7 separate regions of the Homo sapiens genome follow, and regions 1, 3, 4, 5, 6 and 7 are each linked to region 2. Evidence: promoter capture Hi-C in 16 types of primary human blood cells and fetal thymus (Javierre and others, 2016). All regions are on one chromosome and are shown on one strand. Each heading gives the region's core, a stretch centred on a gene start or on the middle of the fragment in contact. The rest is flanking DNA. Distances are from core to core; before and after follow the strand shown. Region 1 holds the start of KCNRG (potassium channel regulator). Region 2 holds the start of DLEU7-AS1 (DLEU7 antisense RNA 1). Region 3 overlaps DLEU2 (deleted in lymphocytic leukemia 2). Region 4 holds the start of TRIM13 (tripartite motif containing 13). Region 5 has its middle 13 kb from the start of SPRYD7. Region 6 overlaps DLEU2 (deleted in lymphocytic leukemia 2). Region 7 overlaps SPRYD7 (SPRY domain containing 7).

What was found. Contacts are between HindIII fragments. The CHiCAGO score rates a contact against its expected background, and 5 or more counts as called.
Region 1: the fragment with the promoter of KCNRG here is called in contact with the fragment with the promoter of DLEU7-AS1 in region 2 in 12 of 17 cell types (naive B cells, total B cells, monocytes and 9 more); the score reaches 18.6 in naive B cells.
Region 3: a fragment that was not itself captured here is called in contact with the fragment with the promoter of DLEU7-AS1 in region 2 in 7 of 17 cell types (naive B cells, total B cells, neutrophils and 4 more); the score reaches 10.6 in naive B cells.
Region 4: a fragment that was not itself captured here is called in contact with the fragment with the promoter of DLEU7-AS1 in region 2 in 10 of 17 cell types (total B cells, naive B cells, naive CD8 T cells and 7 more); the score reaches 14.0 in total B cells.
Region 5: a contact is called between a fragment that was not itself captured here and the fragment with the promoter of DLEU7-AS1 in region 2, in 7 of 17 cell types (total CD8 T cells, total CD4 T cells, activated CD4 T cells and 4 more). The highest score is 10.1, in total CD8 T cells.
Region 6: a fragment that was not itself captured here is called in contact with the fragment with the promoter of DLEU7-AS1 in region 2 in 3 of 17 cell types (total B cells, naive B cells and monocytes); the score reaches 11.2 in total B cells.
Region 7: a fragment that was not itself captured here is called in contact with the fragment with the promoter of DLEU7-AS1 in region 2 in 2 of 17 cell types (total CD8 T cells and total B cells); the score reaches 6.0 in total CD8 T cells.

Annotation. Positions count from the first base shown.
Region 1 is chr13:50,013,792-50,017,580 of GRCh38, reverse strand. KCNRG (potassium channel regulator) reads right to left here and starts at 2,137. Exons shown (of 2, transcript NM_173605.2): 1 at 1,510-2,137. The coding sequence starts at 2,087. It overlaps TRIM13 (tripartite motif containing 13), which reads right to left. Exons shown (of 2, transcript NM_213590.3): 2 at 1-3,789. All of the region lies in intron 10 of DLEU2 (deleted in lymphocytic leukemia 2), which reads left to right. The HindIII fragment of the contact is 12,687 bases long and covers 1,729-3,789 here.
Region 2 is chr13:50,805,079-50,809,361 of GRCh38, reverse strand. DLEU7-AS1 (DLEU7 antisense RNA 1) reads right to left here and starts at 1,507. Exons shown (of 5, transcript NR_046551.1): 1 at 1,376-1,507; 2 at 656-822. It also overlaps a transcript of DLEU7 not described here. The HindIII fragment of the contact is 1,259 bases long and covers 302-1,560 here.
Region 3 is chr13:50,031,376-50,035,195 of GRCh38, reverse strand. All of the region lies in intron 8 of DLEU2 (deleted in lymphocytic leukemia 2), which reads left to right. Among named protein-coding and RNA genes, the nearest start is that of MIR16-1, 16 kb to the left of the region's middle. The HindIII fragment of the contact is 2,131 bases long and covers 861-2,991 here.
Region 4 is chr13:49,995,439-49,999,270 of GRCh38, reverse strand. It overlaps TRIM13 (tripartite motif containing 13), which reads right to left and starts at 2,229. Exons shown (of 2, transcript NM_213590.3): 1 at 1,508-2,229. DLEU2 (deleted in lymphocytic leukemia 2) reads left to right here. Exons shown (of 14, transcript NR_152566.1): 11 at 1,852-2,197. MIR3613 (microRNA 3613) reads left to right here and starts at 2,770; the gene lies at 2,770-2,856. RefSeq lists silencers at 2,493-2,622, 3,213-3,262 and an enhancer at 2,803-2,932. The HindIII fragment of the contact is 4,396 bases long and covers 258-3,832 here.
Region 5 is chr13:49,947,416-49,951,605 of GRCh38, reverse strand. No RefSeq gene overlaps it. Among named protein-coding and RNA genes, the nearest start is that of SPRYD7, 13 kb to the right of the region's middle. The HindIII fragment of the contact is 984 bases long and covers 1,248-2,231 here.
Region 6 is chr13:50,056,810-50,060,912 of GRCh38, reverse strand. All of the region lies in intron 5 of DLEU2 (deleted in lymphocytic leukemia 2), which reads left to right. Among named protein-coding and RNA genes, the nearest start is that of MIR15A, 9.7 kb to the right of the region's middle. The HindIII fragment of the contact is 8,216 bases long and covers 1-4,103 here.
Region 7 is chr13:49,922,850-49,926,701 of GRCh38, reverse strand. All of the region lies in intron 3 of SPRYD7 (SPRY domain containing 7), which reads left to right. Among named protein-coding and RNA genes, the nearest start is that of SPRYD7, 12 kb to the left of the region's middle. The HindIII fragment of the contact is 4,281 bases long and covers 1-3,852 here.

The sequences.
Region 1 (3,789 bases), core at 888-3,387, 790 kb after region 2:
GCAAGAAAATGCTAATTTTAAAAATAGCTTCTGATTTTGGAATTATGGAAGTCTAAATATAATGTTTTCTCACTTTAAAATGGAAAAAACTTTCGTGCTGTTTCTAAAACACAACATAAAAAGGGAAAACCATTTGGCACTGTGTACACACAGGAACATCCCAGTTTTAGTTTTTAATCATGTTTTTCAAGGAAACAATTACTTTCTCCAAATGCATGGTTTTTAAAGAGTACTTCGTATTTCCAGGACATCTTCTTTTGACCTAGTGTGTTTCTTCTTAAAAATCAATGACAGTTTTGTCTCTAGGTTTCTGACTTTTTGAAGCATGATCCCCAAAGAGGTCATAATCACTCATATTTTAAAAACCAAAAAAAATTTCATTTTTGTTAAAGTATCCCATCAATGAAAATAAAGTTGTACAGAGGTTTGAGATAAAGATAAGGTATTAGATTTTCTTCACAATCAGCCTACTAGCTTGACTGGCTCTCTTTTCCCAAAATGACATTTCAAACTCTTTTGAAGGACAGGAAGTTATAAAATGTAAACAATTAAGAATTGTCATACTCGGTTATTCTACCTAGTGTCCTCCAGTTGGTAAGCAAGACCAAGGAGTGTGTCGCTAAGAGAGAGAGACACTGGTATCCTTCCTGTTGGCTACTGCTCAAGTTAAGAAAATATCTTAAAATACGCCTACCTTTACCAAAAAAAAAAAAAAAAGTATATTTTAAATGATACCAATAAAGAACACATGCAGGCTTTTCTTTTCCTCCTAAAAATTAAAGCCAGCTTTCACAGTTGGTAAAATAATGGTAGGACAGCATTAAGACATTTTACGGGGGGAAAAATGTTTGTGACAGCAGAGTGGAAATCAGCGTTAGGATCCAGCCAAGAACAACAGAGGGAGTAAGTGAAGAATTGACTCAGGAGCAACTATCCTTAACATACTGACAGCCTATCCCAATATTTTGAGTTGTTTAAGAGCCAAGGCTGTAACAGGATACCAAATTTGCCATGAGATATATCTGTCTTTAAGGGTGTTTAAAAATAAAGTCAGCTGAAGGAAAAACAGTAGTTGAATCATAAAACTGAAAGAACAACTTATATAGTGTGTAAGGAACTCAAGAGAAACCAGTGAGCGAGCCTTTATGTGAACCACTGAAACAATCTCTTAAAAATAAGGCAATTCTTTTCTAAGTCAAATTCATTAGCAATGGAACATAATCTACAAAATTATTTTCTCCCATGATTTGAATGTCCATAGTCTCAGTTTTTTCTGGGCAGTCTTCATTTATTCCTTTTGTCCCACCTAATAATAGCCCCTTTCACTCTAAAAAGTATCCCAGTTTGGAAAATAATTATTTGGTCATTCTACCCAACTCCACTGGTTACCCCAAAACATTATTTTGAATAATCATCTTTTCCAGAAGTTACAGGCCTGAGGAACTTCAAGTTTTTAGAGAAAACATCACAAACTGGTATACAAGAGAAATACTGCAAAGTACAAAATACCTGACTCCAGTTTGGTTATCAGTAGTGCTGTCAGAACCACACTGGAAAACCAGGTCATGGTAAGAAGGTCTTTGTGGAGGCAGTGGAAGTAAGGTCATCTGAGGAGGGAAAAAGTTACCATTCCAGGTCGGCGCTGAAGGTTGTTCTGTAAACACTGTAATCCTCCCTGTTAGCATCTCAATTGTTTTGCTGCAAGAGCCAAACACCCTGAAAAAAGCTTGAGTGTTCCGGCTTAGGAAATGTACCTCCACAAGAGCAGGTCTTGGCTGTAGCAGGTATGGGTTTAAGAGATCAACTAGAGAACGAAGTTCATAGAAAAGAGCCTCTCTCTGAAGCCTAAGATAGTCTGAAAATTCAGTGGGTAATAAAAGCTGGTGAGTTCTCAAAAAATCTAAGATGAAACTAAACAAATCACCATCTCTGTCTACAAAAATCTGGCCACCAACCATCTTGAATTCTTGGTCTCTGCCATCTAACATGCGTGCCAAACGAGAAGCAGGAAACTGCTTTATCGTAGAAAACCTTGTCGTGAATATCTTCCCTCCCACATTCAAAGTGACCAGTTCCTGACTACTCATTCTTCCCTCACTTCAAACTAGAGGCTACCATCAGCCACACTTAGGAAATCAACCTATAACCATAAATGTTGCTAGTTATACATGATTATGCAGTGGAGGGGAGGGAAGAATAACAAAAACCAGACTTAGATTCCCAGGAAACTACTGTAAGGTAAATAGTGTATCCATGGCTGTGTTTGCAAATTCGAGTTGCCTGGGAACTTGCAGTATACAAAATGAAAAAGCAACAGATGAGGAACTAAATAGCTTAAGGAAAACTGCCAATATATCTGAAGATAGACATCAAATAGATCCCTTTCCTGTCTTACATTTAAAAACTTATCCATGAAAACCTAGTAAAACTATATATATATATATATATATATATATATATATATATATATATATATATATATATATTTTTTTTTTTTTTTTTTTTATTACTGGGAGGGGAAAAGCATTCTCCCTCCCCATACCTGTCTACCACGCAGAGGCTAGACTTAAACGTTTTTCTTAATTTCTTATGATCTCCTTAGAAATTTAGTGGCTAAATCATGAATTACATGTTAGGAATGAGACAGCCTGGCAAGCTCAATTTGACTATTCTCATAGCTAGAAGGAAATCATTTCTTCTGTGCTTTAAATTTAGTTGCCACCTTTTATCCTGTCCCCATTTTCATTACCTCCTCTCAACCAAATTAGAGGAGGACTGAGGTAAAGAACTCTTATTTTCAGAAAGTCTATTCCACTTAATGGGCTTTCAAGGAATATCTTACTCTATGACACAAATAAGGCAGACTAGAGAGCAGTTATAAGGTTACTTCTTTGTTATATGAATTCTAAGCAAGGTGTTTATTCCATGAGAGGGTATCTTTATCTCTTGTGAGCAGACAGAACAGCATTAGTGTTCAGCTGATTACTTTGTAATAGCTGACAGACTGTTTTATCTGTTGTCAAATTAGTCTTAACTACACTAAACATTCTTTCTGTAAGCAAGTGGATTGGTTTGGTTGTACACTTGCCATCTTTCGAACAAAACAACACATAGCTGCCAGAAAAAAGGTAGTCTTCCCATTTCCTGCTCTTGCCATGTGTTCTATATATACATATATATGTATATATATGTATGTGTACATATGTGTGTGTGTGTGTGTATATATATATATATATTTTTTTTTTTTTTTTTTTTTTTTTTTTTTTTGGTAGAGACTGGGTCTTGCTATGTTTACGAAGCTGGTTTCGAACTGGAACTCCTAGCCTCAAATAATCCTCCCACATCACTGTCCTAGAATGCTGAGATTATAGACATGAGCCACCCTGCCCAGCCAGCTGATCCTTTTTTTTAACCTATCTATGCTTTTGCTTGCATAGCCACTTAACATTTCTAGTTGATCATCTTTGGTGAAAACTACAAAAACAAAGGAGAAAAGGGCAGATTGAAAGCTCCACTCTCCTAAAAATGTAAACTTATCACAAGAAAATGCCAGGTTTTGTATGTACCATTCACATTTTGGTGATAATTAACTCTCTGTAGAAAATTTTGGAAATCTAATTAATTAGTACCTTCAATACCTTTAGTTGTCTCCCACACACGCGTGTGTGTGTGAAATCTTCTACAATATCTTCCCTTTTTTAGACCATGTTCACTGTCAAAAAGGTGCTTTAAGAGCAGTCTTTGGCTGGGCACGGTGGCTCACACCTGTAATCCCAGCACTTTGGGAGG
Region 2 (4,283 bases), core at 258-2,757:
TGCATACAACGTCCCTAATGTGATTGCCTTTGGGCTAAGATGGAAAGAAATGTTCAGTCCCAAAGTGGCTATATTTTCTGGAATAGATTGAGTGAAACGTCTCTTTTTTTCAACCAAAACACATGGAAATAAATTTCTTCGGTTTTACTTTCTAAATATCTGGTACAAGGTAAAAACTGCAGTGATTAATATGTCCTATGGGGCTGCCGGTTGGTGAGGAAAGGTTGTCAAACTTTAGATAACTCCACCAAGTTGCTATTATCATTTTTAGGCCTGGGTCAGTCAAGTAGGTAGACAAGCTTCTTGACATGTGGAATTGACTGGGACACTGGTAATTGATCCTATTTAAGAAAATGTCCTCAACGCAATGATTTTGCTTAAGTACCTTCTTATTTTAAATGTACCCCAGGACACCATAGTTGTTTCTCTCTGTGGCTTTTTAATTTCCCTTTTTGTTCCAACTGACCTTTCTAAGTTTTTTTTTTTCCTTCTGAAATAAAGAATTCTAAACTCATGATTTTACAGAAAAGCTCAGTTTGCAAGAATATCAGCAATTTCTTATTTAAATATCTTCTACTATACCCAATTGCTAGAGCATAACTCTTGGCTCCTAAACCCAATTTATAAATCAGTCATCCTTTCCACCCCTACTCACCCCAAATTTGTTCTTCTTCCTGGTGTTGCTGTCTTATTTCTTGGCACCCTCATCTACTCAACAGCAGCAGAAGAAAAGAAGAAACTTCATAGTTGGAGGATCTTCCTTCTATCTATTTATTCATCCATTCACTCAACACATATCTGTGTCAGATACTGCTCCAGGTACTAGAGACAAGCATGTACAGGACAGATATGGAACTCTGTTCTCACAGTGATTATACAGCGATTATATTCAAGTACATTTCTTCTAGAAACACTTGGTACTTCTTGCAGGGACCCCCAACCTCATATAAGTATATATACTTAAATATGTCTAACAGATCTTGATATATTACATATTTAAGTAAATAATGATAGAAAATGAATATTCTTACATGGATGCCCCAATTTCTTTCAGCTGCCTCAGATACTCACTGGATAGTGATAGCCAATGATATGCCAGACTTGATATTGATTGATAATGTTATGGCCCCACCAGGGAAGGTTAGAAGAATGGAAGCTGCTTATTTCAAATTTGAATGAGCAATCAAACATTCCTGTTCTGATTAATGTTTTTTTGCCTTGATGCACATATAAGAACTGGGACTAGCAGAAAGGGTTTAGCTTAGGACTGTGGAGAAATGCTTTTCTTCATTTCTGATAAAGCTCCATTTGCTGTTTGATCCTGTCTTCTTGATCTCCCAAGTTCCTGATAAGTCTACAAAGCTAAAACACTCACAGTTTGATCATTAGTAGTGTAGATCTTCCTCTCATTCAATGGAAGTCTTCTCTTGGAGGTCAGCAGTAAATGTCTCATTGCCGTGACCCACTGGTCAGTCCTTATGCCTCTTCATCTTTGCACATGCTGATCCCTTTCTCAGAAAGAAAGTCCCTTTAGCCAGGCATCATCTCCTTTGAGAAGCTTTCGCTGACCTCAGACTGGAGAACTCTATTATAGCATTTGACACTCCCCACAAAGGGGAGAACAGTAAGTTGCAGTCTGATGAAGTCATATGATGCCCGGGCTGGCTTATGAGTAAAGAGGTGAGAAGGTCTCCTACTGAAACAGATTTTCCCTCTTTCTTCCCCTTACAATAGCCTTTCAAAGTTCTTGAAATGTCCATTAAGGAATTCCTATACTTTACTTTTGATTTCACAATTTCTCAGTCAAAAGCTCAATATCATTGCATAGGATAATACATTACCTTAAAAAAAAAAACACCAAAAAAACCTCAACACTCAAAGATTAAATTTGTGTTTGGAAAAGGCTTTATAGGCAGTGGTACCTGGAAACTGGTGCTTGAGAGAAGCAGGAGGAGGGAGGGGAGATGTCAAATACCATCTTTTAAAAAATTTGTTTGTTTTTGATGACCATCTTTAAGAGATTTTTAAATGCCATGTATGAATTCAAGAAAGAGAATAAAGCAGGATTCTAAGAAATAATAGAAAGCTTCTTAAGGAAGCCGGTATAGTATCATTTTATATCTCTGATATTTCTGCTCATCTACTAAAGCTCATTAAAACCTATTAATGATTAGGAAATACTTATGTTTTATGAAATGTATAAAAAAATTTAAAGATAACAATCTAAACTCTCTTTAAAAATTAATTTTTATATATATCTTAACACCATTTAACACACTTAATTTTAGTACTTCTTTACTAAAGTTTGCGGAGGCAGACTACTCTTAAAAGTAGGAAAAAAAAAGGCAGAGGAGCAGACCGACTTTTTTTTTTTTTTTTTTTTTTGAGAGGGAGTCTAGCTCTGTCACCCAGGCTAGAGTGCAGTGAGTCTAGCTCTGTCACCCAGGCTGGAGTGCAATGGTGCGATCTCTGCTCATTGCAACCTCCACTTCCCAGGCTCAAGCAATTCTCCTGCCTCAGCCTCCCGAGTAGCTGGGATTACAGACTTCTGAAATTCTGAATAGTATAAATACAACTGGAATTACACTTTATTTTTAAATATACATTTCTAGGTAAAAACATAATTAAAGATCAAATAATTTTGGTTAAATTTTAAAATAAGCCCAATATGTAACTAAATAAGTCTTAGCAGAAAAATGTGAGGATAAAGTTGAGATTGCTCCTATTTTTTAATATTTATAGCATTTATTTATTTGTAATTACTTGTGAAGTTTCAAGTATTAAATATTACTCCGAGCTGTCTAATATGAGTCAGAATTTAGGGCAATAGAAAATATAAAACAAATTTTTCCTTACTAATACATGTTTTTTAAAAAGTTGTGTTTATGTTCTTCATTGAGAACTAAATAATCACTAAAAGAATTGCAGAAGTCATAAAATCATTAAATTAAGGAGAGAAAATCTCTATATATTCAGGATAAAGACATTTAGTATGCTAAGATCTCTATCCAATGGTCAAAAAACAACCAACCAAAGATGAAAATAAAAAATAATTTCTTGGAATATTATCTGAGGACTTCCAATTTTAACATGCAGAGCTAAGTGAGTATTTTCTTATTCATATCTCAGAAAAACCAACCAAAACATCAAGGGAATCAAGAAAAACAGTAATGCAAAGCTTATCCTTTGTAAAACTAGGAAACAACAGAGATTTTTAAATGAGAGAGAGAGAAGACTTAGTGGCATAGGACATAGGAAGTACCAGAGTGAAGATGCCTGTGGATTCTGAGCTTCAAGAAAGTCATAAAAGCACAATTCTAAGTGATACATACTGAAATGTAAATGGAGGTTTTTACAATAGAGGGCAGCAAACCACTTCTTATACAACCAAATAGTAAATATTTTAGAATTTCTGGGCCATATGGTCTCTGCCATAACTATCAAATTCTGCCACTGTAGTGCTGAAGCAACCATGTACAATAAACAAATGGGCATATCTATATTCCAATAAAACTTTACTTCCCAAAAAAGAAAGCTAGCCAATGGGCTATAGTTTGCTGATATTTGTTCTCTAGCAATAAGGGTGTGTCAGCTTGACTGAGTGCTTCCCTGGGCCTCAAAGTGGTGAGGTTTCTAGAAAAAGGAAAGGCGATAAAGCTGAATGAGAAGTGGTAGGAAACTGCACAAAGAAGACAGGGCATTGCTGAAAGCATAGCTAGACATGTGGAAGACGGAATTAGAAAAAAATGAGTAAAAAGAATAAATAAAAAAGATATTTAAAAGGGTTATATGATAGATGCAAAATATATAAAAAAATCAAACATATGCATAATTGGTGTTCTTGAAGAAGAAAATCAAAATAATAAAACAATAACTGTTAGGATTATTACACAAAAATTATGAATATAAAGCATTATTAAACAAAATCCAATTACACATTAAAAAACTAACACACCATGAGCAATTATATTTATTCTAGAATGCAAGGATGGTTCAATATTAGGAAATCTATTAATATATTTCTACCACACTAATAGATTAAAAATCATGTTTCTAGATGCTGAGAGACATTTGATAAACTCCAACATCCATTCTTACTAAACAAGCAAATAAACAACAAAACAAAACTGTCAATAAATGGCAATAGATACTTCCTTAACCTAGTGCAATATACTAATCTCAATCTAAAAGCTAGTGCTATAATCTATAAGGAAACTCAGAAATATTTATATTAATGTCAGGAACAAGACAAGAATGTCTACTACCACAACTATTCATAGACG
Region 3 (3,820 bases), core at 677-3,176, 770 kb after region 2:
TACACGTATATATATGTATATATATACGTGTATATATACACGTATATATATACACGTATATATACGTGTATATATACACGTATATATATACACATATATATACGTGTATATATATATATGCGCACACCAAATGTCACTTAAGGACACTGTCCCTCTGGATGTTTACCAAAATCTAGAAGAGAAAATACACCTTTTGCAACTAAAAGGCTGCAAACTAAATAATCCAAATTCTAGACATAGAATTTTCTTAATATTTCATGTCAATTTAAAGATCTGGACTTATGACAAGGCTTAATAACAATCACTAATTTCATTCTATCTCTTCTAGAGCAATAATGGTAGTGTAGCAAATTCCTATTCATCCTTCAGTTTTTTAGGTATTACCTCAAAAGGGCAACCCCATCTCCCACATATATACACTTGTGTTAAAAATTAATAACTGCTGGCTGGGCACAGTGGCTCACGCCTGTAATCGCAGCCCTTTGGGAGGCCAAGGCAGGAGGATCACCTGAGGTCTGGAGTTCGAGACCAGCCTGGCCAACATGGTGAAACCCCATCTCTACTAAAAATACAAAAATTAGCCAGGCATGGTGGTGCATGCCTGTAATCCCAGCTACTTGGGAGGCTGAGGCATGAGAATCACTTGAACCCAGGAGGCGGAGGTTGCAGTGAGCTGAAACCATGCCATTGCACTTCACCTGGGCAACAAGAGCGGAAGTCCATCTCAAAAAAAATAAATAAATAACTGCCTTTTCTGTACTATCACCCTTAAAACAGTCTCATTATTGCTTATGTTAAATCATCACATGATTTACATGCTTCTATATTTCCCTGCTATTAGCCTGTAAGGCTAATAAGCTTGAGCCCAGAGGCTGTCTTATTGAACTCAGGTCATTTGGTGACTAGTAAATAGGCTGGTAACCTCATATACATTCAGTAATATGTTAATTCTCTGATTAAAAAATACATTGATATCAGTATTGGTATGGCTACTCAGAAATTATCTTTTCAGTAGAATTCTAGCCTCAATTAGATCAAATTTATAGATCATCAACATCACAGTTTCATTAAAGGATCAGAGGAAAAAAATGAGAAGCATGAAATGGTACTTGCCAAGTACAATAATGTAGTTTTGTGTCTAAGATAAGTCTTTGTAAGGGCTCTATTTCTCACTGAGATAATGTGCCAGCTGAGGAATAAATTTTACAACACTTCTTTTACCTCCTTGGTAACAAGGACAAGAGAAACCTTGACAATATATCTGATGTAAATCTTAAGTCTCTTAGCAGACTAAAATGGATTCCCAGATGTTTTTTCTGAGATGTTGCAAGAAGGCACTGCAGAGGTCAGGAATTCCAGTTAGTTTTGCTACTAGCTCAAGATACAGGGTTTTTAAGGTATTAATTTGTAATACTTTCTAAAAGTATTTAATTGCTGTTTTTTCCATTTCATCATCCATCTGGTTGGCCCTATGGTTTCTCTACAGTTTATTCCTTAAGAAAACTTCAAAATCCAAGGCAACCTTGCTTAGGCTGATGAATTCAAATTAGCTTGTATGTTAGAATCCAACAAGAACAGGAATTAATAACTTCCTCTTTCTACCTCATTAAGAAACTATTTCATTTGTATCTGTCCCACCTGAATTGTAAGGCATGACCCTTTTTCCTAGCATTGCGTTTGTGTTTTTCCCAGCATCTGAATTCTACCTGCCCACCCAGACCCACAGTACTCTGCTTCTGGATCTTGCCTACCTAAATCCATAGCATTCAAATGCTTTGCCCTGAAATCATCTGGCTTTTGGACTACACTGGGAAATCATCTGGCTTCTGGACGACTTTGTATAGGGACCCAAGTACATTTCCAAATTAGGCCTTCCATAGAGAGAACTCCTTTTTAAAAAAGTAGTTGAGAATTCCCTTTTTTTTTTTTTTTTTTTTTTTTAGACAGTCTTGCTCTGTCACTCAGGCTAGAGTGCAGTGGCCTGATCTTGGCTCGCTGCAATCTCTGCCTCCCGGGTTCAAACAATTCTCCTGCGTCAGCCTCCCAAGTAGCTGGGATTACAGACACACACCACCGCGCCCAGCTAATTTTTGTACATTTAGTAGAGACGGGTTTCGCCATGTTGGCCAGGCTGGCCTCGAACTCCTGACCTTGTGATCCACCTGCCTCGGCCTCCCAAAGTGCTGGGATTACAGGCATGAGCCACTGTGCCCAGCCTAGTATTATAATCTTTTATATAAAATTGTGCTGCTTATTTTTCATTTTAATGTATTCATTTAGAATGTATAATTTTACAATTTGTGGTATCTACTATATTTTAGCTAAACAGTTTTCTTCCATATATAAAGAAAACAAAATGAAAACATCTGACACAGTAGATGATATCTATTTGAATTAATAATGATTCAATCTGACTTATTTAGCATGGCAGTTTTAAAAGATAAATCTTAAGAATCCTATTTCCAATAAACAATCTTAATCTTAGGGCCTTCTCTGTTTTTCAAAGTATTTACTTTTCATATTCAGTATTTTTGTATTTAGCTTCTCTCAGTTGAAAAGATAAAAGTTCTCATAGAAATAGTAAAGTGAATTTTTTAGATTAAATAATCCTTTTTCTAATCTTTCAATTATCTTACTTGCTGTTATGGGGGAAAATGCTTTAACCATAGGAATGTCTAAAGAAATAACTTAGAATTCATTGAAGAATTCATACAAGAATTAAGAATAATATGCAAAAAGTAAAAATATAAATTAGAAGTGAAAATGTTCATTAGATTAATTTGATGATTCTTATGTTGAGAATCTATAAGTTATTTTCTGCATTGCCCTCATTTTTAAAGTCTCAAACTGGTCAATTATGTGTGTATAGCTATTCATTCATCCAACATGTCTCTTTGTTCAGAGGCACTTGCCTCTGTTGCTAGTCTCTTCAGTTTCATCAGGATGCATTTTATTAAGATAACAGTTGAGCATGTACAAGAAGCTAAAGCTTACCCACACGTTTAGAAGGCCATGAAATGAAACAGAATAAAAGATTATAATGTGTTATAATAAAATTCATATTTGTGATTATGCTAAAGAAGTATTTAGGTAGCTTGGTAACTTTGCCCGAGAAATGACAGTGTAAACAGAAGCTTAAACTGTTCCTGTCCCAGAGAAGTTAATTGTGGTCATATTCAAATACTTGAGAATTGGCTCTGTCATTGCTTAGTTGAAAGACCTTAAGTTACTGTCTTTCTCTAAGCCTTTAAATTTTAAATAAGATATTGAACTTGGCTCTGTCTTGTCCCAAATTTTTATAATCCTAGAAGAGAGTCAGCCTTCAATATATTCATTTTAGAGATATTTAGTATACTGACATATTACTTAAAATAGCAGATGGGAAAAATTAAATATAATCTCATAGATTTATGTGGAAAATTCAACATCATCTTAGAGTTCTGGAAATTGTGTTTAACTTTACCATTTATAGAAACTATGTTAGATTTCATTTCTCTTACTCTTTGTCAGATCGACACCTTGACTGTGTGAGACGTGATTAACAAAAAGGAAAACTACCCCCACTGGAAGTTGTTAAAGGAAAGGCAATGCAAATGAAAAAAAAGAAAAAGAATTTCTAAAAGTTTTATCAGACAAAAATTTAATTGAATCAATGGGGCAATCTGGAGTTCTGGATGATTCTGTTAATTGAAGTTTACAATCACTTTTATTTTATTTTTATTTATTTACTTATTTTGAGACAGAGTCTCACTCTGTTACCAGGCTGGAATGCAGTGGCGCGATCTCAGCTTACTGCAACCTCCGCCTCCCTGGACCAAGC
Region 4 (3,832 bases), core at 1,206-3,705, 810 kb after region 2:
TCATTTACATAGCCCGTCTAAAGACTGGCCCTCCCACCCTAATTTTTTGTTATGCAAATGTAGCTTCTACCTGGGGCCGCCATGACACCTGCACCCGTGGTTTTACCTAGTGATCGCCAAGACGCCCACATAGGGTGACAAGGAAAAGGGAGCGGCCCAGACGCCCACATAGGGTGACAAGGAAAAGGGAGTGAGAAACCCCATATTGAATGTACCTGGCTTCCAGATACAGCAGGCTACATTTACATATAAAAGCTTCTAGCCTGCATATTTTTGCTTGCAGCTTGACTTTTCAGGCTTTCTGTTAGAAAATAAATGGTTTGGGGGCTTTTTTTTTTTTTTTGGTAGAGTCTCGCTCTGTTGCCCAGTCTGGAGTGCAGTGGCGCGATCTTGGCTCACTGCAACCTCTGCGTCCCGGTTCAAGTGGTTCTTCTGCCTCAGCCTCCCGAGTAGCTGGGATTACAGGTGCACGCACCCCCACGCCCAGCTAATTTTTGTATTGTTAGTAAAGATGGGATTTCACCATATTGGTCAGGCTGGTCTTGAACTCCTGACCTCAAGTGATCCACCCACCTCAGCCTCCCAAAGTCACCGGCCAGGAGCTGCTTTTTATTAAAGGAAAATTCCACCGAGAACTCTTTTACCCTTTCTAGCTGCCTAAAAGTAATTTCTCAACTCCTGTGTGATGTGTGAGAATTCCATAAACTACGAAACTATACAAACATAAATAAGGTTTAATTACATATGGCAAACTCTACACATTTAAGGTGTTATTTTGGAGCATCAGTGTATCAAGCAAGAAAAGGTTCTAAACTTGAACTGTGATTTCAAGGCAAGGCAAAACAAATATTACATAAGGTATCAGGTACAAAGCAGTGTCATGAAAATGAGCATATCTGAACAAAAGCTGTGACAGAATTAAGGCCAGATAACCTATCATAAATGTATAGAATGAACAGAACAGCCCGGTTTTAGGAAAGGACTTCCCAGGGAGGTTTAGTAAGCCAGCTGGGAGAAAGGAAAAAAAACGTATTTTTAGGGAGGGATAGGGACGCTCCCATTGTGCAAGAAGGAAGTATAGCCGGTTAACAGCTCCATCAAGTTCTACTAGAAGGAGTGCCTATGTAAATGAAATTCTGCTTTTAAAGTGCCTATTATATAAAGGTCTCTAGAAAACTCAAGCCCTGTTCTACAAGCCCTAGCAGCCTGACAATTCACTAAGCATAGGAGAAGGGAAAAAAAAGTAGGAAAAAAGTGTGGAAGCCCCTTTCTTCCTTTGTAATATGAATGTTTGGCTATATTTAAGATAAATACCACATAAATAATTGCTAAACGTGAATTCTGTTTTTCTAAGTTTTAACAAAATATGCAAAGAACAAAGACCACCAATGAAAGTGGATGGGAACATACGTATTCTACACACAGTTCCATTTTGGAAGGTTCTAGGGCCTATTGAAATTGGGTGTTTAAAAAAAAAAGATAACACAGGAAAATTATTGTAGTTTACCTCTGTCTCCTACAAGCTGATGTATTTGGCAGGGTTACTATTTCCCAGGGCAAAGCAGGTCTTTTTTTTCACGTTTTGACTAACGAACTAGAGGCTACTGCAAAGAAAGAAGAAAAAGAACAGTATTAACGCATTTATTTGCACAGCACCCCAATCTTGACCCTCAATTTTTTCAATCGCCCCCACAAATAAAGCCCGGCTGTTTAGACCTGGTGAACCGCCAGGAGCCTGGAGCTCTTTGTATTAAGCAGCTTCTCGGTTAGGGCGCCCTCCCCCGGCGCCATGCAACCAAACGCTGGCGGCGCGCTGTAACCTAAGGCCCACACCCGTCTTTTCTTTTCTAGGGGATGTGGAGACGCTGGTAGCGGGGCCAGGAAGGCTCCGGACGGAGCAGGTTTTCTGGACCACAGACACACTGCCCCGGCGCCCTCCGCAGGCCGCTCCTCCCCAGGCCCATGACAGTGCCCCGCTGGTTTCTGCCGCGCTGCCGGACTGGAGCTCAGACGGCCTTCGCCAGCCCCCCCAACCCACGCAGATCCCTGCTGACCTGGGCAACTCCCCACCCTCGCTGAAGGTTCGAGGACCACCCCGCTTTCCCGAGAGGAGCCGGGCGGCGGGTACTTATCTCCGACCTCCGGCTAGTGGGAAAGGCCGCGCGACCGCCCGTCCTCCAACTACAGGGACCGCACGGTACGCGCCAAGCACAGCCCCAAAATGGACTCGCGGCTCCGGCTAGCTCCGCCCCCTTCCCTCTCCCGCTTCCCCTTCCCCTCCCGTCCCTTCCCCCTCCCCTCCCGTCCCTTCCCCCTCCCCTCCCGTCCCTTCCCCCCTCCCCCTCCCTTTCCCCTCCCCCTCCCCCTCCCTTTCCCCTCCCCCTCCCCCTCCCTTCCCCGTCGCCCGCCTCCGCCTGCACCTCCGGCCCCGCCTCCCCGTCCCGCTTCGCCTGTGTCCCGCCTCCCCGGCCGCGCCTCGCCTTGGCGGAGGGAGCCGGGTGGTGAGACCGCGTTCCTTCCGGCGTCTCCAACCGCCGCCTGCTCCCGCCGTCCACCCGCGCGGGCCGCCTGGGACGGGGAGGGCCGGGCTGCGGGCTTTTCTCCCTTCCAGAGTCCTGCGCCCGCCCAAAGCCCCCCCGCAGAGGCTGGGCAGCGGCTCCGGGAAGTGGACGCCGTTTGCCCAGACGGTGGGCTCGACTGAAGCGGCGCGGTCCCGGGTGGGGCCGCCCGGGAAGAAAGTCTCCCAGTTAAGCTGCCGTGCAATTAAGATGGTTGGGTTTGGATTGTTGTACTTTTTTTTTTGTTCGTTGCATTTTTAGGAACAAAAAAAAAAGCCCAACCCTTCACACCACTTCATCCGCATCTCAAGACCAGAAGCCGACCCCAGCGGCTTGGGGAAATGGAGCCCCGCACCCCACAAGGGGGAGGGTGGGACGGGCACCTCCGCACTGCGCGGCCTGCGGAGTCACCGATTCGCGTTGGGAGCGCGCCAGGAGCGCCAGGGCTCTAGCCGGGGGCTCCGGGCAAGGCGCAACCAGAAAAGGGTTCAGTATCCCCCATCACCCCCACCCCCAACCGTACCCTCTTTCTTTGCGGGCTTTAGGCAGGACACCAGAGACCCAATTCTATTTAAAATTCTCTTTTAAGAAAAGGAACGCCTGTTTTTGCCTTTGGGGGAAAGGATGAACTTTCAAATTGGCTTTAAATTATCCACCACTAACAGTTACTCAGTCGATAACCTGACTATTCTGACGTCCACCTCCCGTTTGAGGACCTTGCCCAATAGCAAACGTACTAAGCACTTAACCAGTGAACGGTGTGAAGGATGCAAACATGGATGATGAAGGAATGGCTCCTCCAGAATTTACGATCTTGGGAGAAGTGAGGCGAGTATAGAATCTCAGAACACGCTGTAGGATTGAGTTCGATCCCAGTTGAGGAAGTTTGGGTTTGGGGAGGAAATAGGTTATTTTGGAGAAACGGTATTCAAAACCTACCATAAATAGCAGTACAGCCCGTTGACTAATAATGCTTAGCCCAACCCCCGTAAAAAGCCCCTGGCCACATCCGTCTCCTGAGATTCCCACTTCTCTGTGTGCATCTCCCTTCCTGCTATAAGAAACCTAACTTTGCCTTCGTAGAACACTTCTTTTAATTTCTGTCATTCAGTCTCATAACACTGTGTAAAAGAAATTATGATCTTCATCCTATATAGATGAGAAAACAGGTGAAGTGACTTTTCCAAGGTACAAAAGCAAGAGGCAGAGCTGAGGCTAAAGGCAGCTTCCAGATATGGGCTCTTTCTACAGCACCATAACTGTCAGTGACAAAA
Region 5 (4,190 bases), core at 490-2,989, 860 kb after region 2:
TTCAAGCGATTCTCCTGAATCAGCCTCCCAAGTAGCTGGGACTATAGGCATGCACCACCATGCCCAGCTGATTTTTGTATTTTTAGTAGAGACGGGGTTTCACAATGTTGCCCGGTCTGGTCTGGAACTCCTAACCCCAAGTGATCCACCCACCTTGGCCTCCCAAAGTGTTGGGATTACAGGAATGAGCCATCACGCCCAGCCAAGATGGGTGGATCACCTGAGGTCAGAAGTTCGAGACCAGCCTGGTCAAAATGGTGAAACCCCATCTCTACTAAAAATACAAAATTAGCCAGGCGTGATGGCTCATGCCTGTACTCCCAGCTACTTGGGAGGCTGAGGCAGGAGAATCGTTTGAACCTGGGAGGCAGAGGCTGCAGTGAGCCAAGATCACACCATTGCACTCCATCCTGGGCAACAAGAGTGAAACTCCATCTCAAAAAAAAAAAAAAAAAATCTCATAATGTTTTAGGAAAGTTTACAAATTTGCAAATTTGTGTTGGGCCACATTCAAAGCCATCCTGGGCCACATGCAGTCTGTGGGCCACAGGTTGGACAAGCTTGTTCTAGAGGCTGTCCACATTCCTTGTTCCACAACACTCCAACCCCTGCTTCCATCATTACATATCTGATCATCCTACCTCCCTCTTATAAGGACCCTTGTGATTGATTATATTGGGCTCACCAGGAATAATCTGAGATAATCTCTCCATCTCAAGATCCTTGACTTAATCATTTCTGCAAAGTCCCTTTTGCCATATATTCACAGGTTCTGTGGTTTAAGATGTGGAGATCTTTGGGGGTCATTATTCTGCCTAACAGGTGTGAATAATTATATTTTTTACCCCGATTTTTTTTTTAAGACAGAGTCTTACTCTGTTGCCAGGCTGGAGTGCAGTGGCACGATCTTGGCTCACTGCAATCTCCACCTCCCTGGTTCAAGTGATTCCCCTGCCTCAGCCTCCTGAGTAGCTGGGATTCCAGATGCCTGCAACTACTCCCAGCTTATTTTTTATATTTTAGTAGAGACAGGGTTACACCATGTTGGTCAGGATGGTCTCAATCTGACCTGGTGATCTACCCGCCTCGGCCTCCCAAAGTGCTGGGATTACAGGCATGAGCCACCGCACCCGGCCTTACCCCAATTTTTAAATAAGAAAAAAAAAAAATCTATGAGCAATAGATAATAGATTTCAAAACTGTGCAATGATAATGAAAAATAATTTGAAATTTGGCTTCTCTAAGCTTGTCAAAGGAAGTTATTTTAAGACTTTGTTCACTATTTGACATTATTGTAGAATTTTTTGGTTCAATGAAAAATTAAACACTGAAGTTAAAATATTGTAAAATTATATGACATATCTTTTCAATATATTGAAAAGTTGAATGAGCTCTTTTGTAAGTGCCAGAAAATGAGAATAATCTCATTAAAGTGAAGGATATTATCATGGAATTAATTAGCAAATTTACATTATTTTAAAATAACCTTTTCTTCAAGATTTTTAAATTTCACCCATCACCTGAGCATTGTACACTGTACCCAATGTGTAGCCTTTTATCCCTCACCCCTCTCCCACCCTTTCCCCTGAGTCCCTGAAGTCCATTTTATCATTTTTTATGTCTTTGCATTCTCATAGCTTAGCTCCCACCTATGAGTGAAAACATACAATGTTTGGTTTTCCAGTCCTGAGTTATTTCACTTAGAATAATGGTCTCCAATTCCATCCAGGTTGCTATAAATGCCATTATTTCATTCCTTTTTATGGCCGAGTAGTATTCTATGGTGCATATATATACATTTTCTTTATCCAGTTGTTGATCGATGGGCATTTGGGCTGGTTCCATATTTTTGCAATTGTGAATTGTGCTGCTATAAACAGGCATGTGCAAGTGTCTTTTTCTTGTAATGACTTCTTTTCCTCTGGGTAGATGCCTAGTAGTGGAATTGCTGGATCAAATGGTAGATCCACTTTTAGTTCTGTAAGGAATCTCCACACTGTTTTCCACAGTGGCTGTACTAGTTTACATTCCCACCAACAGTGTGAAAGTGTTCCCTTTTCACCACATCCATCTTTTTGATGGGACTGTTTGTTTATTTTCTTGCTGATTTGTTTGAGTTCCTTGTAGATTCTGGATATTAGTCCTTTGTTGGATGTATAGATTGTGAAAATTATCTCCCATTCTGTGGGTTGTCCATTTATTCTTCTAATTATTTTTGTTCTACAGAAGCTTTTTAGTTTAATTAAGTTCCATCTATTTATCTTTGTTTTTGTTGCATTTGCTTTTGGGTTCTTGGTCATGAAGTCTTTGCCTAAGTCAATGTCTACAAGGGTTTTTCTGATATTCTCTTCTAGAATTTTTATGGTTTCAGGTCTTAGATTTAAGTCTTTCATCTATCTTGAGTTGACTTTTGTATAAGGTGAGAGATGAGGATCTAGTTTCATTCTTCTACATGTGGCTTGCCAATTATCCCAGCATCATTTGTTCAATACGGTGTCCTTTCCCCACTTTATGTTTTTGTTTGCTTTGCCAAAGGTCAGTTGGCTATAAATATTTGGCTTTGTTTCTGGGTTCTCTATTCTGTTCCATTGGTCTATGTGCCTGTTTTTTTTTTTTTCAGACGGAGTCTTGCTCTGTTGCCCCGGCTGGAGTGCAATGGTGTGATCTTGGCTTACTGCAACCACCGCCTGCTGGGTTCAAGCAATTCTCCTGTCTCAGCCTCCTGAGTAGCTGAGATTATAGGCACGTGCCACCATGCCTGGCTAATTTTTTATATTTTTAGTAGAGATGGGGTTTCTCCATGTTGGCCAGACTGTTCTCGAACTCCTGACCTAGGTGATCTGCCCACCTCGGCCTCCCAAAGTGCTGGGATTACAGGTGTGAGCCATCACACCTGGCCTATGTGCCTGTTTTTATACCAGTACCATGCTGTTTTTGGTGACTATGGCCTTATAGTATAGTTTGAAATCAGGTAATGTGATGCCTCCAGATTTGTTCTTTTTGCTTAGTCTTGCTTTGCCTATGCAGGCTCTTTTTTGGTTCCATACAAATTTTAGGATTGTTTTTTCTAGTTCTGTGAAGAAGGATGGTGGTATTAATGGGAATTGCATTGAATTTGTAGATTGCTTTTGGCACTATGGTCATTTTCCCAATATTCCACACATCCATGAGCATGGGATGTGTTTCCATTTGTTTGTGTCATCCATGATTTCTTTCAGCAGTGTTTTGTAGTTTTCCTTGTAGAGGTCTTTCACCTCTTTGGTTAAGTATATTCTTAGGTATGTGATTTTTTTGCAGCTATTATAAAAGGGGTTGAGTTCTTGATTTGATTCTCAGCTTGGTCGCTGTTGGTGTATAGCTACTGATTTGTGTACATTAATTTTGTATCCTGAAACTTTGCTGAAGGAGCTCTTTGGATGAGTCTTTAGGGTTTTCTAGGCATACGATCATCAGCAAACAGTGATAGTTTGACTTCCTCTTTACCAATTTGGATGCCCTTTATTTCTTTCTCTTGTCTGATTGCTCTGGCTAGGACTCTGTCATTTTAGAAAGTTTATTTTGCAGGCCAGGCATGGCAACTTACACCTGTAATCCCAGGACTTTGGGAGGCCAAGGTGGGCAGATCACTTGAGGTCAGGAGTTGGAGACCAACCTGGCCAACATGGCAAAACCCCGTCTCTACTAAAAATACAAAAATTGGTCAGGTGTGGTGGTGCATGCCTGTAGTCCCAGCTACTCAGGAGGCTGAGGCAGGAGAATCGCTTGAACCCAGGAGGCAGAGGTTGCAGTGAGCCGAGATCATGCCATTGCACTCCAGTCTGGGCAACAGAGCGAGACTCCGTCTCAAAATTGCCAAGTTAAGGACGCACCCATCACACAGCCTCAGGAGGTCCTGATGATACGTGCCCAAGTGATCAGGGCACAGCTTGGTTTTATATATTTTAGGGAGACATGAGACATCAATCAAATACATTTAAGATATACACTGGTTCGGTCCAGAAAGGCAGGACAACTCCAAGGGTGGGGGGTCCAGTTACATGTAGATCATGTAGAAAAAAATTTTCTGATTGGCAATTGGTTGCAAGAGTTACTATGAATAGAAAGAACTGTCTGGGTTACATAAGAGGTTGTGGAGACCAAAGTTTTATCATGCAGATGAAGCCTCCAGGTAGCAGGTTTCAGAATAGATT
Region 6 (4,103 bases), core at 882-3,381, 750 kb after region 2:
AGCGATGATGGTCATAGTGGTGGTGAGTTAAAATAAGGAATAAATGTTTGTAAAGCAGAAATTGTAAGGAGCACCTTCTACTACCATGTTGTTCAAAAACAAGCAATAACAAATATGGCATGCTTGCTGAGCACTTTCATACTACATCATTTGTTGTTGTGCATTTGTATGATGATTGTATATTTGACAAGTTTTTATTTTGCAGTAATTTACATTCATTCATTTTCCAACCCACTTACTCCACTTTGGGGTTGCAGGTGGCTGGAGCCTATCCTAGAAGCTCAGGATGCGAGGTGGGAACCAACCCTGGATAGGATGCCATTCTATCACAGGGTGTCCTCCTACCCCGACACTCAGCCATACTGAGACAATTTAGATGTGCTAACTAACATAACATGCACATCTTTGGGATGTGGGAGAAAACCCATGCAGACATGGGGAGAACGTGGAAACTCCACACACTGTGGCCCCAGACAGAAATCTCTATATTTTTCCTCTTCAGTATTAAAAATGAAACAATGTTGAATGAAACATCATTTGAAGATCTGTTTATAACTTTGTTCTCTGGCCCTAGATCTACTGTCTAAAAATTGTTTTTATGTCTTTTCTCTAAGCTGTACATTCTGAGGTCCTTCCACTGTTGCCATATAGCATTAATTTCTAGACCATATTTTTTCTAGACCATATTAATTTCTAGACCAATATTTTCTGGATACCCTACTTTGGATCTGTTACATTTTGTTAGTATTCCTTTTTAAATAATTGTATTTAGAATTAATTGCAATATACTTAATGTAGTATAGGTACAAAACACACTGCATCTATGAATAAAGTTCTATAGTGCAGTCTGATTGCACTAGCTTTTTTTTTCATCAATACTATCGGGTCATGTTGAGCTGCAGTTCACTGAAACACTTAAGTGTGTTAGAATTTCAAATCCTGTAAATTTAGATTCAGTAGGCATTTGTTGAACACCTGTTCACTACTAGATGTGCTTGTATAAATTTCTGCTGTTTATTTTACTGATAGTAAGTTTAAAATGTAGAAATTGACCAGTAGATTTATTGTACTGAGGATGATTCTGTAGTTTAGGAGACATGACTAGAATTTCAATGAGAACAGATTGTAAGGACAGAAATAAATAAATAAAAAGAATTTCTAAATGATTTTGTTAAATGCAATAACAACTTTATGTAAACTACAGATGAACTGATAATAGAGCACATGTAAGAAAATGTCTAAAAAATGTTATTGGAAATAAAATTAGAGCTGTAAATCATTAACAAGGAAAAAACATTAACTTATATACAATTTATTTTTTCCATATTTCTTAAAATATATTAAATTCTAACATAGAAAACCAACTTAAGAGATTTAAAGATTCCCATCTACTCAGATTTATTATATTCAAGTTGAATTATTAAGCAAGACATTTAATTTACTTATTTTGTCTCACCTTTCAATATAACTACTTTTTTTTTGTTGGAAGATTATAAGAATGGAGAGTTCTGGTATATCAAAGGCCCACAGCCCAGAATATAAACCACCAGACTTGGAACTATGGTTGTTGTGTAAAGGATAAGGACTGAATGATTCTGTCTTCAGAATATTTTTGTATTTTTTTTTTTAGAAGCTCTTTTCTTTGGCTCTACATCTAGCCATTAGGGCTCTTTCTGTATCTGGTTAGGCAAAGTGGCTTTTCTTTCAGCCAGCAAACGTAAAAGCAGAGATTTAAGGGATGGAGTCATGATGATATTTCCAGTGGACTAAGATAAAGGATTGAAGAAATGGCATGGTCTATACTAGTAAAGATTTCCTCACAGCTAGTCCATTTTGAATGGAGAGATAAGTATGGAATAGGGAACCAGTTATCTGCCCAACACAGTACCTAATAATGAGAATAATTTTCTGTATTCAAAGGTTCTTAGTGGTTGTTAATGTCTTAAAAGAGACCATTTAACTGGAATGGAAGTGTTTTCTTTGGAGAAAAGCAGGAAACATTGGATAGATCTTAATTATACAGACCTTGATACTTAGGCAGAAAGTAGAGATTCTACTTAGGAAACTAGAAATTACTTTTTTTTTTTTTTTTTTTGAAACAAGGTTTTGCTCTGTCACCTGGGCTGGAGTGGAGTTCAGTGCAGTGGCATGATTATGGCTCAGTGCTGCATCAAACTCCTGGGCTCAAGTGATTCCTCCCACTTCAGCTCCTGAGTAGCTGGTATTACAGATGCCCAGCTGATTTTTAAATTTTTTGTGTGGGGGTGGCTAAATGATGAGAGCACATGGACACATAGAGGGGAACAACGCACACTGTGGCCTTTTGGAGGATAGAGGGTGGGAGGATGGAGAGGACCAAGAAAAATAACTAATGGGTACTAGGCTTAATACCTGGGTAACGAAATAATCTGTGCAACAAACTCCCATGACAGGCCTGGCATGGTGGCTCACGCCTGTAGTCCCAGCACTTTGGGAGGCTGAGGTGGGTGTATCACTTGAGGTCAGGAGTTTAAGACCAGCCTGGCCAACATGGCAAAACCCCATCTCTACTAAAAATACAAAAAAGTTAGCCCGACTTGGTGGCGCTGGCCTGTAATCCCAGCTACTCGGGAGGCTGAGGCAGGAGAATCACTTGAACCTGGGAGGTGGAGGTCACAGAGAGCCGAGATTGAGCCACAGCACCCCAGCCTGGGCAACAGAGTGCAACTCTGTCTCAAAAAAAAAAAAGCAAACAAAAAAAAAAACTCCCATGATAAAAGTTTACCTACATAACAAACCTGCAGTTGTACCACTGAACTTAAAATAAAAGTTAAAAAATAATAATAATAATTTTTTTTTGTAGAGATGGGGTGTTGCTATGGTGCCCAGGCTGGTCTCTCAAATTCCTGGGCTCAAGCAATCCTCCGACCTCAGCCTCCAAAAGTGCTGGGATTACAGGCATGAGCTACCTCGTCCAGCCTAGATACATTCTTGAATATGTAACTTTGGGAAGATTTATTAATTGATTAAGGACTAGGAGGTCCAGCTAAAATGCAATTGGATTTATAAGGTACTTAAATCCAGATTTAAGGTATGAAATCAAGAATGGCGAAGAAATCAATGAACTGAGGTCTTAAAGAATCAATTCATTTTATTGACTAGCTGAATACAAGGGATGATTGACACAAGATGAAAATTGAGTGTTAAGAAAGAATAACAATGGGCAAGTATGAATGATTAGGACATAAAAGGGAGCAAAAGAAGAATGTAAGAAAAAATGTAAATAGCATATTTATCAAACCTTTTTATATTGCATTTCTTGACTAACATGATATATTTGTAATTTAGTCATACTTAGTATTTAGGAAGTAAAGTCATCAAATAAAATATGAATGTTTGATTTCTAAGAAGTTTAACTTTTTGTATAAGGAAATGATTATAAGAGAATCTAATATTAAAATAACATTTGGGGGGCTTATATATATAGTCTGACTTTCTGGAATAAATTTTCCAGATTGAAATCTACTTCATACACAGTTTTTAAGCAATCTTTCAGTCATTTTTTCATCAGAAGAAATCAAGGCAGTTTAGAAACAGTAAAACTTTATATTTGCCTAAACTCAACAACTAGGTTTTTTATATTATAAAACAGTCATGTTGGATTAAATCTGATTATTATTTTATTGAATGCGTATTCCTAACACTGAATTTTAAAGCTATCTTCTCTAGTTAATAGAGCCTTTTTGTTTTTAAGTATTTATATTCCAGAAACAAGAATCAAGCAAAAGCACATTTTAATCTTTCCTGTAAATGTTATATATTTGGACACTTTATAAGACTTCATAGTAGGGTAATAAAAAAATTACCATGTTTCGCCAGGCATGGTGGCTCATACCTGTAATCCCAGCACTTTGCGACACCAAGGCGGGAGGATCATTTGAGGCCAGGAGTTTGAGACCAACCTGGCCAACATGATGAAACCACGTCTGTAAAAAAAAAAAAAATACAAACCTTAGCTGGGCGTGGTGGCACAGGCCTGTAGTCCCAGCTACTTGGGAGGCTGAGGTGGAAGGATAGCTTGAGCCTGGGAGAAGGAGGTTGCAGTGAGCTGAGATCACGCTACT
Region 7 (3,852 bases), core at 510-3,009, 880 kb after region 2:
TACAGTATTTTAGAAAGAATGAAGAAAGGTGTGGAAATTAAGATTTTTAATTACGGCCTGATCTTTCTTCTCTTTTTTGCAATTTAAAAAATATGAACAACTGTAAGTTTTTAATTGTTGGAAGTTTTTTTTCCAGAATTGACTAAAGAAAAAAAGGAGATGAAAGGCATAAGCCATTAAAAAAATCTGCTTTTTCCCATGCTTTTTGAATAGTTGGTTCTGTATTTGTAGATCATTGCCAGATGCCCATAATATGGAACATCCTTATTCAAATGGTAATTTCTTGAAAGAGAATCTTGAAGTCAAGTTGATGCTGTCAACCTGTTTACCCTAAAAGATGAAATTCAAACATAAGAAAGGATAATCAGTAACAAATGTTTTTCTTTGTTGATGAACTGAAACTTCTACCTGCCTTCCTATCTCATTTCATTCATTGTAATGTCTGATAGCACAGTGTGACAGACTGAAGAATGCCACTTTTAGTCTGTCAGTGTTGTTAAATTAGACTTCGAGTTTTCATATGAGCTCATTCTCATAAAAGGAGAACTAAAACTATGAAATACATGCAGAGCCAAGAAAAGAAAAACATTACCCTGCTATTTTAACTAGTTCAAACACTGGAGAACAAATTTTACCAAATTGTTAACAGTGGCATGCAATAAGTAGAATGGATTATAAGACAGGAAAAGCATTCTCATGTGTTTAGAATTTAAGTCATGTACCATTCTCTGAGGAGAAATCAAGAAAAATAAGCTGTGAACATCTAACCAAATGATTATATGATTATATTCATATGATAATCACCCAGTACAGCACGGCCTGCTACAGAACTAGAAAGACATACATGAAACAGTTTATGCTCACTTTCTCCTTTTTTTTTTTTTTGTTTTCAGATGGCCACTCGCTCTGTCACCCAGGCTGGAGTGCAGTGGCGCTATCTTGGCTCACTGCAAGCTACACCTCCTGGGTTCACGCCATACTCCTGCCTCAGCCTCCTGAGTAGCTGGGACTACAGGCGCCCGCCACCACGACTGGCTAATTTTTTTCATTTTTTACTAGAGACGGGTTTTCACTGTGTTAGCCAGGATGGTCTCCAACTCCTGACCTCATGATCTGCCCACCTCGGCCTCCCAAAGTGCTGGGATTACAGGCGTGAGCCACCGTGCCCGGCCTACTTTCTCCTTATACATATAATTCTGAAAAGTACAAATTTCATTCTAACATGCATGTATCAGTTTACTTTTAGAGAAGTCTTATAAACATTCTATGTAATAATAACAATAACAAACACTTCTAAGCATTTATTTATTGAGATGGAGTCTCACTCTGTTGCCCAGGCTGGATTGCAGTGGTGCCATCTCGGCTCACTGCAACCTCCACCTCCTGGATTCAAGCGATTCTCCCGTCTCAGCCTCTCTAGTAGCTGGGACTACAAGTGCGTGCCACCACGCCTGGCTAATTTTTGTATTTTTTAGTAGAGACGGGGTTTCACCATATTGGACAGGCTGGTCTCGAACTCCTGACCTCGTGATCCACCCACCTTGGCCTCCCAAAGTGATGGGATTACAGGCATGAGCCACCGTGCCCAGACCTAAGCATTTATTATGGGCACTGCTCTAAGTGCCTGGCAAGGATTAAATTGTTTAATGCTCATAATGGCCCTTTGAAATAGGTATTATTATTATTATTATTATTATTATTATTATTTATTTATTTTTTTTTTTTGAGATGGAGTTTTGCTCTTGTTGCCCAGGCTGAAGTGCAATGATGCAGTCTCGGCTTACTGCAACCTTCACCTCCCGGGTTCAAGCGGTTCTCCTGCCTCAGCCTCCTGAGTAGCTACAATTACAGGTGCCTGCCACCATTCCCAGCTAATTTTTTTGTGTTTTTAGTAGAGACAGGGTTTCACCATTTTGGCCAGGCTGGTCTGGAACTCCTGACCTCAAGTGATCTACCCACCTCGGCCTCCCAAAGTGCTGAGATTACAGGTGTGAGCCACCACGCCCGTACGGTAGTAGTATTATTATCCCCATTTTACAGATTAAGAGAAATTAAGTAACTTCTTATGTGAGTTAATTACAAGACTATATAGCTCAGCCAGATACTATGGCTCATGCCTGTAATCCTAGCACTTTGAGAGGCCAAGGCAGAAGGATCCCTTGAGCTCAGGAATTTGAGACCAGCCTGGGAAACATAGTGAGACCCCATCTCTACAAACAAACAAACAAATAAATAAATAAATAAAATTTAAAAAGAAAATTAGCCGGGCATAGTGGCATGCCCCTGTAGTTCTAGCTACTTGGAAGGCTGAGGTGGGAGAACTGCTTCAGCCTGGGAGATAAAGGCGGCAGTGAGCCGTGATCCTGCCGCTGCACTCCACCCAACCTGGGCCACACAGAGCAAGACCTTGTCTCTGGCCGGGTGCGGTGGCTCACGCCTGTAATCCCAGCACTTTGGGAGGCCGAGGTGGGCAGATCACCTGAGGTCAGGAGTTCGAGACCAGCCTGACCAACATGGAGAAACCCCGTCTCTACTAAAAAAAATACAAAAAATTAGCCAGGCGTAGTGGTGCATGCCTGTAATCCCAGCTACTCGGGAGGCTGAGGCAGGAGAATCACTTGAACCTGGGAGGCGGAGGTTGCAGTGAGCCGAGATTGCGCCATTGCACTCCAGCCTAGGCGACAAGAACGAAACTCTGCCTCAAAAAAAAAAAAAAAGACCTTGTCTCAAAAACAAAAACAAAAACCAAGATCATACCTGAAGCAGTCTAATTTCAGAATCTGTTCACTAACCTGCACACAATTATTAATAAAGACATAGAACACACAGTATATTTTGCTATCATTTTGGCAGAATCAAACCCAGTTTCTTCATCATAGAATAGATTAGGTTAGAAAACACTTGAACTGGCCCATCACAGTGGCACATGCCTGTAATCCCTGCACTTCGGGAGGCTGAGGCGGGCGTATCACACTGAGCCAAGGTCGCGCCACTGCGCTCCAGCCTGGGCGACAGAGTGAGACCCAGTCTCAAAAAAAAAAAGAAAGAAAATACTTGAACTAAACTATACTGAGGGTGGGACTTCTCACATCTTTCCTCACTTCTTTGGTACTGGGATTTTGCTACTGCAGGCTTGGGTTTAAAACTTGCTTGTTTGAGGCTGGGCGCGGTGGCCAACGCCTGTAATCTCCGCATTTTGGGAGACCGAGGCGGGCAGATCATTTGAGGTCAGGAGTTCAAGACCAGCCTGGCCAACATGGTGAAACCCCATCTCTACTAAAAATGCAAAAATTAGCCAGGCATGGTGGCGGGCGCCTGTAATCCCAGCTACTGGGGAGGCTAAGGCAGGAGAATCTCCTGAACCTGGGAAGTGGAGGTTGCAGTGAGCCAAGATCATGCCATTGCACTACAGCCTGGGTGACAGAACGAGACTCTGTCTCAAAAAAAAAACAAAAAACAAACTTGTTTGTTTGCAATCGGCCACTGGGGGATGAAAGTGCCTGGATTACAACCTCACTGATCTGAACTGCTAGATTTCTGGTAGTCCCATAATGAGAGTAACATACTTTCTTTTTTATGTAATTAAGTTTTTGTTTTTTAAAATGAAAACAGACTTTTTCATTAGAAAAGTGAATCCCAGCCATCAGCTAGCTTTATTACTATTATCTAAAGACATAAACTAAAGCGAAGCAAAGGCAATCTATGTACTATTTATCTTTCTCAGTATTCCTTAATTATTAATAATTGTTTAAGTTAACCCTGGCTTTGCTAAGAATTGAGAATCTTTCATACCACTTACCACATTAGCTTCTCTGGGCTTTTGCTGTCTTGCTTGTAAAGAGAGAGAATTTA